Regions from separate parts of the Homo sapiens genome. Here region 2 is linked to region 1. Evidence: promoter capture Hi-C in 16 types of primary human blood cells and fetal thymus (Javierre and others, 2016). All regions are on one chromosome and are shown on one strand. The core of a region is centred on a gene start or on the middle of the fragment in contact, and the rest is flanking DNA. Distances in the headings are between cores, read along the strand shown.

What was found. Contacts are between HindIII fragments. The CHiCAGO score rates a contact against its expected background, and 5 or more counts as called.
Region 2: a contact is called between a fragment that was not itself captured here and the fragment with the promoter of MIR106AHG in region 1, in 1 of 17 cell types (activated CD4 T cells). The highest score is 5.3, in activated CD4 T cells.

The regions. Positions count from the first base shown.
Region 1 is chrX:134,172,203-134,176,063 of GRCh38, forward strand. MIR106AHG (miR-106a-363 cluster host gene) reads right to left here and starts at 1,886. Exons shown (of 2, transcript XR_007068340.1): 1 at 1-1,886. RefSeq lists an enhancer at 1-758 and a silencer at 2,717-3,011. The HindIII fragment of the contact is 10,100 bases long and covers 1-3,861 here.
Region 2 is chrX:134,395,974-134,399,834 of GRCh38, forward strand. The region is part of intron 5 of PHF6 (PHD finger protein 6); the gene reads left to right. Among named protein-coding and RNA genes, the nearest start is that of PHF6, 25 kb to the left of the region's middle. The HindIII fragment of the contact is 2,085 bases long and covers 710-2,794 here.

The sequences.
Region 1 (3,861 bases), core at 636-3,135:
GAGAGCGCGGGGATCCCGCACGGGCCGCCCTCTCCGGGTGTCCCCTCCACACGTATACCCAGTGTCCCAGCGCGCAGCTCGAGCGCTCCGGGGCCGGGTGCGAGCGCAGTCTCCCGCGGAGCCAGAAGGGGAAGAGAAGTGAGAAAAAGCGTCCACTAAATGGATCAAGGCCGCGAGCGCACATCTCACCCCAAAGCGCCCCTGTCCAGAGCGACGCGGGGCCACGAGCCTCCCTGCCACCACTTGAGGAGCGCTCCGTCCCCTTGGCCCTCTGTCCGTAGCTATATCCCTGGGAAAAGCCCGCCCCTCTGCCTTTAATAGCCCAAGGAAAAAAGCCCGCCCCCGCCCACCCGGCCCGCACAGGAATTAGGAAACGGAACCCCCACCCCGCCAAAGCGAAAACCCCACCGAGCCCCAGTTACCCACGGGCGGACCGCAGTCGGCATTTTCCCTTCTCTCTTCCCCCAAGCTGGAGTCCTTAATTAAAGGCGCGCCTGGGACAGCGGCCCAGGCAGAGGCCGTGGCCGGAGCCGGTGCGGGTGCCACCGGCATCCGGGCCAGGATGGCGCACTCACTACCACCTTGTCCCATCTCGCTCCCGCGGCGCTCGCCTCAGCCCCCCACCGGAGACAGACGACGAGGCCCACGGAGCCGTGGGACAGGGGTGTCCCCCACCCGGCGCGCGCATGCGCGCCACCTCGCCGCTAGATTGAAAGTGTTCCTAAGGCCCGAGGAGGGAAGAAATAGAAACACGACTTACTCTCTGCACATGTGAAAGTTTTAACCCCTAGCACCTTGTGCTACTGTTGGGAGGCTTTCGCCCTTGCCAGGCGCCCTCTTCACCCACTAAATCAGGGTTTCTTGGCAGGTATCGTTAACGGTAGCAGCCACCGAATACACGCGCAAATGTGCGGAAGATACGGTGCAATTATCTTGCTTTCTCCTCTCATTCCACCGCTAATGAGAACCAATTGAGGGCGGGCTGCTTCAAGGCCAAAGCCCGACAGCGCTCTGTAGAATAAAATGATGTCTTAGTTTAAGACGCACAATCAAAATGGAATTAAGCATACCAGACTTTGAACACCGGGCAAAATGAGAGACAACCGGGCTATATACCTTCTCCGCGTCCCTGGCGGACACAGGCGCAAGATGGGATTTGGGGAGCGTGCGGGGGTTGGGGGGGTGGGCGGGGGTGTGCAGGGTACGAGGTTACAAATCAGAGACCAGTGAGCACGCTGGGTCGGAGGAGGAAAGCCCTGGAAGGCAAGCGGGGGGCAAGGAAGGAGGGAAGGGGTGCAAAATGAAGCCGGACCCCTCCCTTTCCACCATTGTTACCAGGGTGATTGTGGCAGCCCAAAGCCCAGAAGAGGACAAGGGCGCCATGTGATTCTCAACCTGGTGCACTGGTGCACAGTAGTAGCTCAGGCAAACATTACAAAAGACTGGCCTCTCCCGCCCCTGGCCCGCGAAAGAGTCCAACCTGAACTGCCAGCGCCCCTCAGGAGTCAGCGGTGGATGCAACGAAAACCACAATCATTTCTCCAACGCGAGTCACTCGCACAGGTGGGCTTCCTCCCCTTTTTCATGCAACAGACCTTGCAGCCTACCCTGGCACGTCTGCGTGATACTTTCTGGAAACTACGCAGCCCGAAGTTTACTACCCAACCAGATCCCTCCTGTGAGATTGCACCGACTGCAATGCAACTTTCGACCTTTAATGGTAACGACTAGCAGTGGAAAGAAGAGGAGGGGGAGGGAAGAGAACTTAGACCCGACTTTAAGAAGCGTTGTATTAAAGCAAGATAAGAACAGTACCTTTGAGCTGGAGCAAAACCTGGAGTAAAAAAAAGGGTTTTTGCGAAAGTGGCGCGAAGATAATATCATGTGATCCGACCCCAGGGCGTCTCCTTCCCCTTTTGCCAAACTCCCCTCCCCTCGAAAAAAGGGGGGTTGGGGGAGCTACATCCGCTCCTCACAAACTATTAGCATAATTAATTGTGTCCTACAGCTGCAGCCAGAGCTCCCGGGTCAATGAGTAAACATATCCTCATCCTCTTCAACATCAGAACAAAAAAACCCATTACCCTGATTTTGGAAAATGTTCCCAAATAAATCTCATTATCTTCAAAAGTCTTTATTTGGTATTCGGAGTCTATGTGTCTTGGTTGGAGAGACAGAAGAAGGTTGGAAAAGATGAAATCATCCTATTAAAGGGAACAAGTAGAAGTAACTCCCCAAGAGTGACATATTTAAGTAAAGGTTTTCAAATGGAAATACCGTGTTGAGGGACTTCACTAGCTTAAAATTTTCCAAAAGTTTTAGCAGTTCATTAAACAAGACATCCTCCCAGTCTTCCTATTCGCCACCCCCCATCTCCCACCCCTCCTCCCAGTCCTCCTTCCCTTTAAAGCTAGAACAATACCCGGAATAAGGTATTTTGAGATTGCTTTACCAGGATATTTTCTTGTTCTTAATTTTTTTTAAGGGTTTGCAACATATAGAATGTCTGGATCAAGTTCCCAACTGGCGAAAATAATTTATTCCATCTCAGTACCTGTCTAGCACAAGGTAAAACTAACTAAGTACAAGATATAGGTTATGAGAAACTAGGACATTTTGATACACCAAATGATTTATTTTTGTCTCTTTCTTTTGGAAAAAAAATTTAATCATCGGCCAAAATACCTAGAGAATCAAAAAAATCTAAAGAACAAAGCATTTCACACACACCCCCCCCAAAAGTCAGAATAACTAACAGCTCAAAGAAAAGCACGTGATCCCTTCATGCTTTAAAACTTGTGGTCATGCTGAGGCTAAAAGCAAAGAGCTTGTGACCCCGCAACCCCGTCCCCTCCCCCAGACCACAGCCCAGGGCTTAAGGCTCCAGGCTCCCACCGGGCTCCTGCTCGCTCCCAGTATTGTGAGACAAACAATACTTAGGCATTCTGCAAAATAAAGGAGCCACAACTCCTATCCCCCAGTCACATCATTTATGACCAAACAGACTGGCCGGTGTGCGTATATACGCATGTATGTAAATATGATATAGAATACATGCCTACACGAAAGCCCAGATGTTCTGTCAGAATGTGTAAGAAAGGTATGGAAACTGGCCAAAGGGAGGGAGAACTTGTTATCTTTCGTGAGCCTAAGGATTCTCATCACAACTTTAAATTCTTGACACTATTTTGAGTTTATGATGGATTCAAAGAAAAACGGTGAATGCCCAGCAAAATATTCCCCTCAAAATAGACCCACTTTGAGCTTTCCTCTGCCTTGAAAAGGGGTGAAGGGATTCTTCTGTATTGACCTCTAGATTTAATTATGCCATATAAAGCAGCAATCTCAAGTAGTTTGGATTTGAACACCTTTAAGAATAAAATTGACATTTTACCCAGTTGAGAAATCATGTTACTTGATTTAGAAATAATATTAAGTGGCTTTGTTAAACCTAATGATTGGTATCTTAGAACAAAAAGGTCCCCATGGAAACCAGAAAGTAATTTAAGAGTATTATGTTCCTCACACAACTAGAATAGAGCTTTTGTTCTATGTGTATTTACTACTCTACATTTTTGAACTACACTTGCAATTAAGGTCTGTTACACTCTGGTTTTGCCCAGGATGAGAAGTTTAGTGTCCCACTGAAATATGTGTTTTGCTACATTTGTGTGTTTATGTTCATGTGCTCATGTGCATGCCCATGAGGCCTAAAACAAAGCCAGCAGATCAGAACACTCACTAAACAGAATGGAGGCGGAAGATCCCAAACAAAATATTTCAAATGCTATTTTGCTATTTGATCCTAGAGCAGGAACTGTGATTTCATTAGAAGTCTATCAAAACTGGTCTTCACTAACT
Region 2 (3,861 bases), core at 502-3,001, 220 kb after region 1:
CGCTTTTCCACCTTCCATTATTTCAGATTTTAACAGTGCATTTATTTCATTCTCTTTAAGACTGTAGTGGCCCTATATGGTTTTTTTCTTAATCTATTTTTAATTTTTGTGAGTACAGAGTAGGTGTGTATTTATGGGGTACATGAGATATTTTGATACAGGCACACAATGTGAAATAAGTACATCATGGAGAATGGGGTATCCATCCCTATTTCAAACAATCCAAGTTAAGCTGAGGATTGAGACTATGTTATGCTGTATGTTAAGCTGAGAATTGAGACTCATGATCTGATGAATACAAGTATGAGCACACTGAGACAGGATATTTGAGATAATTAAGAAGGATGATTAATATATACTGATTATGTAGATAGCTCCCATTTTATTCCCTGGATTTCTGAAGCTGACAGTACCATCTAGTGGTAGGGAGAAGTCACTGCAAACTATATAAAGTAGAATAATTTTGGCCATGTTTTAGCACTGTGACACTTAATAGAGATCTAAATTCATACTTTTCAAGACAACTTTTCTTTTACTGTAACTGGCAGCATTATTATAACTTCAGATTTGTGCTACAATTAATTTGAATTTGGGATTCGATGTGTACGTCTATAGAACAATGGGCGGGGGGCTTGTATCATTTTTATATATAGTGTGTTTATACTCATTGTGGACCTTGAAAGAATAATTTTATAATTTAAAGTATTAAAGCTTTATATTTATTGATTTCTGGCTTTTATCACATTGATCTAGCTCAAATTTAGTTGATTTTGAGTGCTTTGTCAGAAACAGAACTTCCAATTATTCCATTGTTCTAATGGGAAACATATGTTCTCCTTTACGATCATGGTTTATGATGGGAGGTTATAGGATTGTATTTCAGGGACTGTCTTTTAAGAATTGTACTGCACTAAAAAAAAAAAAAAAAGAATTGTACTGCACTAGTCTCCAGAACAAAGATGAATTAATATCTATGGTAATGTCTTGGTCATTTGCCATCTGTGGCTCAATACTTACTTTGCTAATACTTAATATGATAAATGCTATTAATATATAATTCATTCTGCCATGTTAGCTTTATATAAAATGAGCTGTTTTGAAATATTAAATTTGAGAATAATTGCATAATATAGCAATTCAATTTTCCCATCACAAATAAAATATTATTGAATATTAAATACCTAAAACCTATGTCATCAGTTTTGCTTCAGGAAAAAATGGACTGTGAATTTGAAAAGCAATTTTAAAAATCTATATGGAGTTTATAACTATCATTATGTCACTAGGTTATTAGAATGCCCGTCCCAGGAACTGTATGTATTTACCTGTTAGTGGTGATGGGCTTAGATAAGTTGCCTATAAAATGATTCGAAACATATAAGAAAGCATTTCTGGGCTGGCACGGTGGCTCACTCCTGTAATCCCAGCACTTTGGGAGGCCAAGGCTGGTGGATCACCTGAGGTCAGGAGTTGGAGACCAGCCTGGCCAACATGGTGAAACCCCGTCTCTACTAAAAATACAAAAATTAGCTGGGTATGGTGGCACACATCTGTAATCCCAGCTACTCAGGAGGCTGAAGCGGGAGAATTGCTTGAACCCAGGAGGCGGAGGTTGCAGTGAACTGAGATTACGCCATTTGCACTCCAGCCTGGGTGACAGAGCAAGACTTGGTCTCCAAAATAAAAAGAAAGCATTTCTGATAAAAAAAATATCTCCCCTATCAATGGTGACAGTTAACTGAGGACAGAGTCCTTCCGGAATTATATACAAGCTAGTAAATATATTTCAGCTACTATTTTCCAGGCCTGTTAGGTAATTGGAGATATAGGGATAAATTAGATGGGTCTCTGCCCCAAAGAGCTTGAAGTCTAATATGAGAGATGTACATTAAATAAATAGTTGCACAATTAATAGGTTACAATTGTAATAAATGCCATGAATGAGAAATTAGAGTGCCATGAGCAAATGTTTGGGGGGACCTATGAGGAAATTTCATTTAAATTAAGTCTTAAAAGACTAAAGAGGATTGGAGGCACATTCTATGCAGAAGGAACAGGATCTTTGAAGACTTAGACAGGAAGGAACTTGATGCTTCCAAGGAATTGATAGAAAGCTATGTAAGTAAAAGATAGATAGAGGCAGGCATGGTGGTTCATGCCTGTAATCCCAGCATTTTGGGAGGCTCCAGTGAGGAGATGGCTTGAGGCCAGGAGTTTAAGACCAGCCTGGACAACATAGCGAGACCCTCTCTCTACAAAAATTTTAAAAATTAGCTGAGTATGGTGTGCACCTGTAGTCCCAGCTACTCGGGAGGCTGAGGCAGGAGGATTACTTGAGCCCAGAATTTCAAGGCTGCAGGGAGCTACAATCATGCCACTGCACTCCAGCCTAGGCAACAGAGTGAGACCCTGTCTCTTATTCAAACAAACAAAAATGATAGGTAGAGTGGCATATGAGGTTGGGAGAAGAATACATGGGCCACAATGGTAGGGATTTTGAATATTATCCTAAGAACAGCAAGAGGTAATTGAGGGTTTTAAGCAAAGAGAATGGCTTGTTGCAGGAATCCTGGTTAGTAGTGATAGAAGGCTTGGACTAGAGTTGTAACTACGGAGATGAGCAGAAGTAGACAAATTTGAGAGAGTGTTTGAAGATAGAATTGATGGGACTTAGTAGGTGCATCCAATATAGGGATAAGGGAAAAGAGATATTGGAGATGACTCCAAGGTTTCTGGCGTATCCAAATGGGTGACGGAGGGTGCCACTTGCTTAGATAACAGGAGAGGTAAAGTAAGCTTATGGGGAAAGTTGATGAGTTAAGTTTGAAAGATCAAGTTTGAGGTACCTATGAGCTAGCTAAGTGGGGATATCAGAGAAGCAGATGGATTGATTATATGGTTCTTGTTCTCAGAATAGAGATCTTGGCTAGAGATAGAAATTTGCCAAGTGTGAGTATAGATAATTGCATCCTTGTGAGTGGAGGAAAAATCCCCTAAGGAGAGCGTTCAGAAGAGGAAAGGGCCTAGGACTGAGCCTTGAGGAACTTTAACAATTAAAGGCTTGGTATAGAAGGATGGGCCTGCAAAGGGAGAGAAAAAGAATGGCTAGAGAGGTAGGAGGAAAGTCAGATTAGTGTTACATCCTGGAAACCAAAGGAAGGAAGAGAGTAGTTCCTGAAGGAACCAAATGGTCAACTTCGTGGGCTGTTGAAAAAGTATCCATTGGATTCAGTGACAACGGAGCCATGGGTGACCTTAGAAAATAGATTGGGTAGAGTAATAGGGGTAAAAGCCGTATTGATATGCACCTCGATAAATGGGAAGTGAGAAATTGGAGATTTGTGGCATGGCATGTTACATACATGTCAAAATCCATAGAATGTACCACACTAAGAGTACCCTAATGTAAACTGTGGACTTCAGGTGATAATAATATGCCTATATTTGTTCATCCATTGTAACAAATGTACCACTCTGGTGTAGGATGTTAATAGTAACACGGGTAAGCCTCCTAATATGTTTGCTTGTAAAGGGGCAGGGAATAGTTAGAAGGAAGTTAAAGGGTGGCTTTTTTCCCTTAATTAATAGACTTTATTTTTAGAACAGTTTTAGGTTTATAGCAAAATTGAGCACAAAGTACAGAGTTCCTGTATATCTCCTGTTCCCCAACCCCTAACATACACACACACACACACAGACACACACACACACAGACACACACACACACACACACACAGCCTATCCACTATTAACATCCCACACCAGAGTGGTACGCTTATTACAATGGATGAAGCAATATTGGCACATCATTATCACCCAAAGTCCATAGTTTAAATTAGTGCACTCTTGGTGTGGTACATG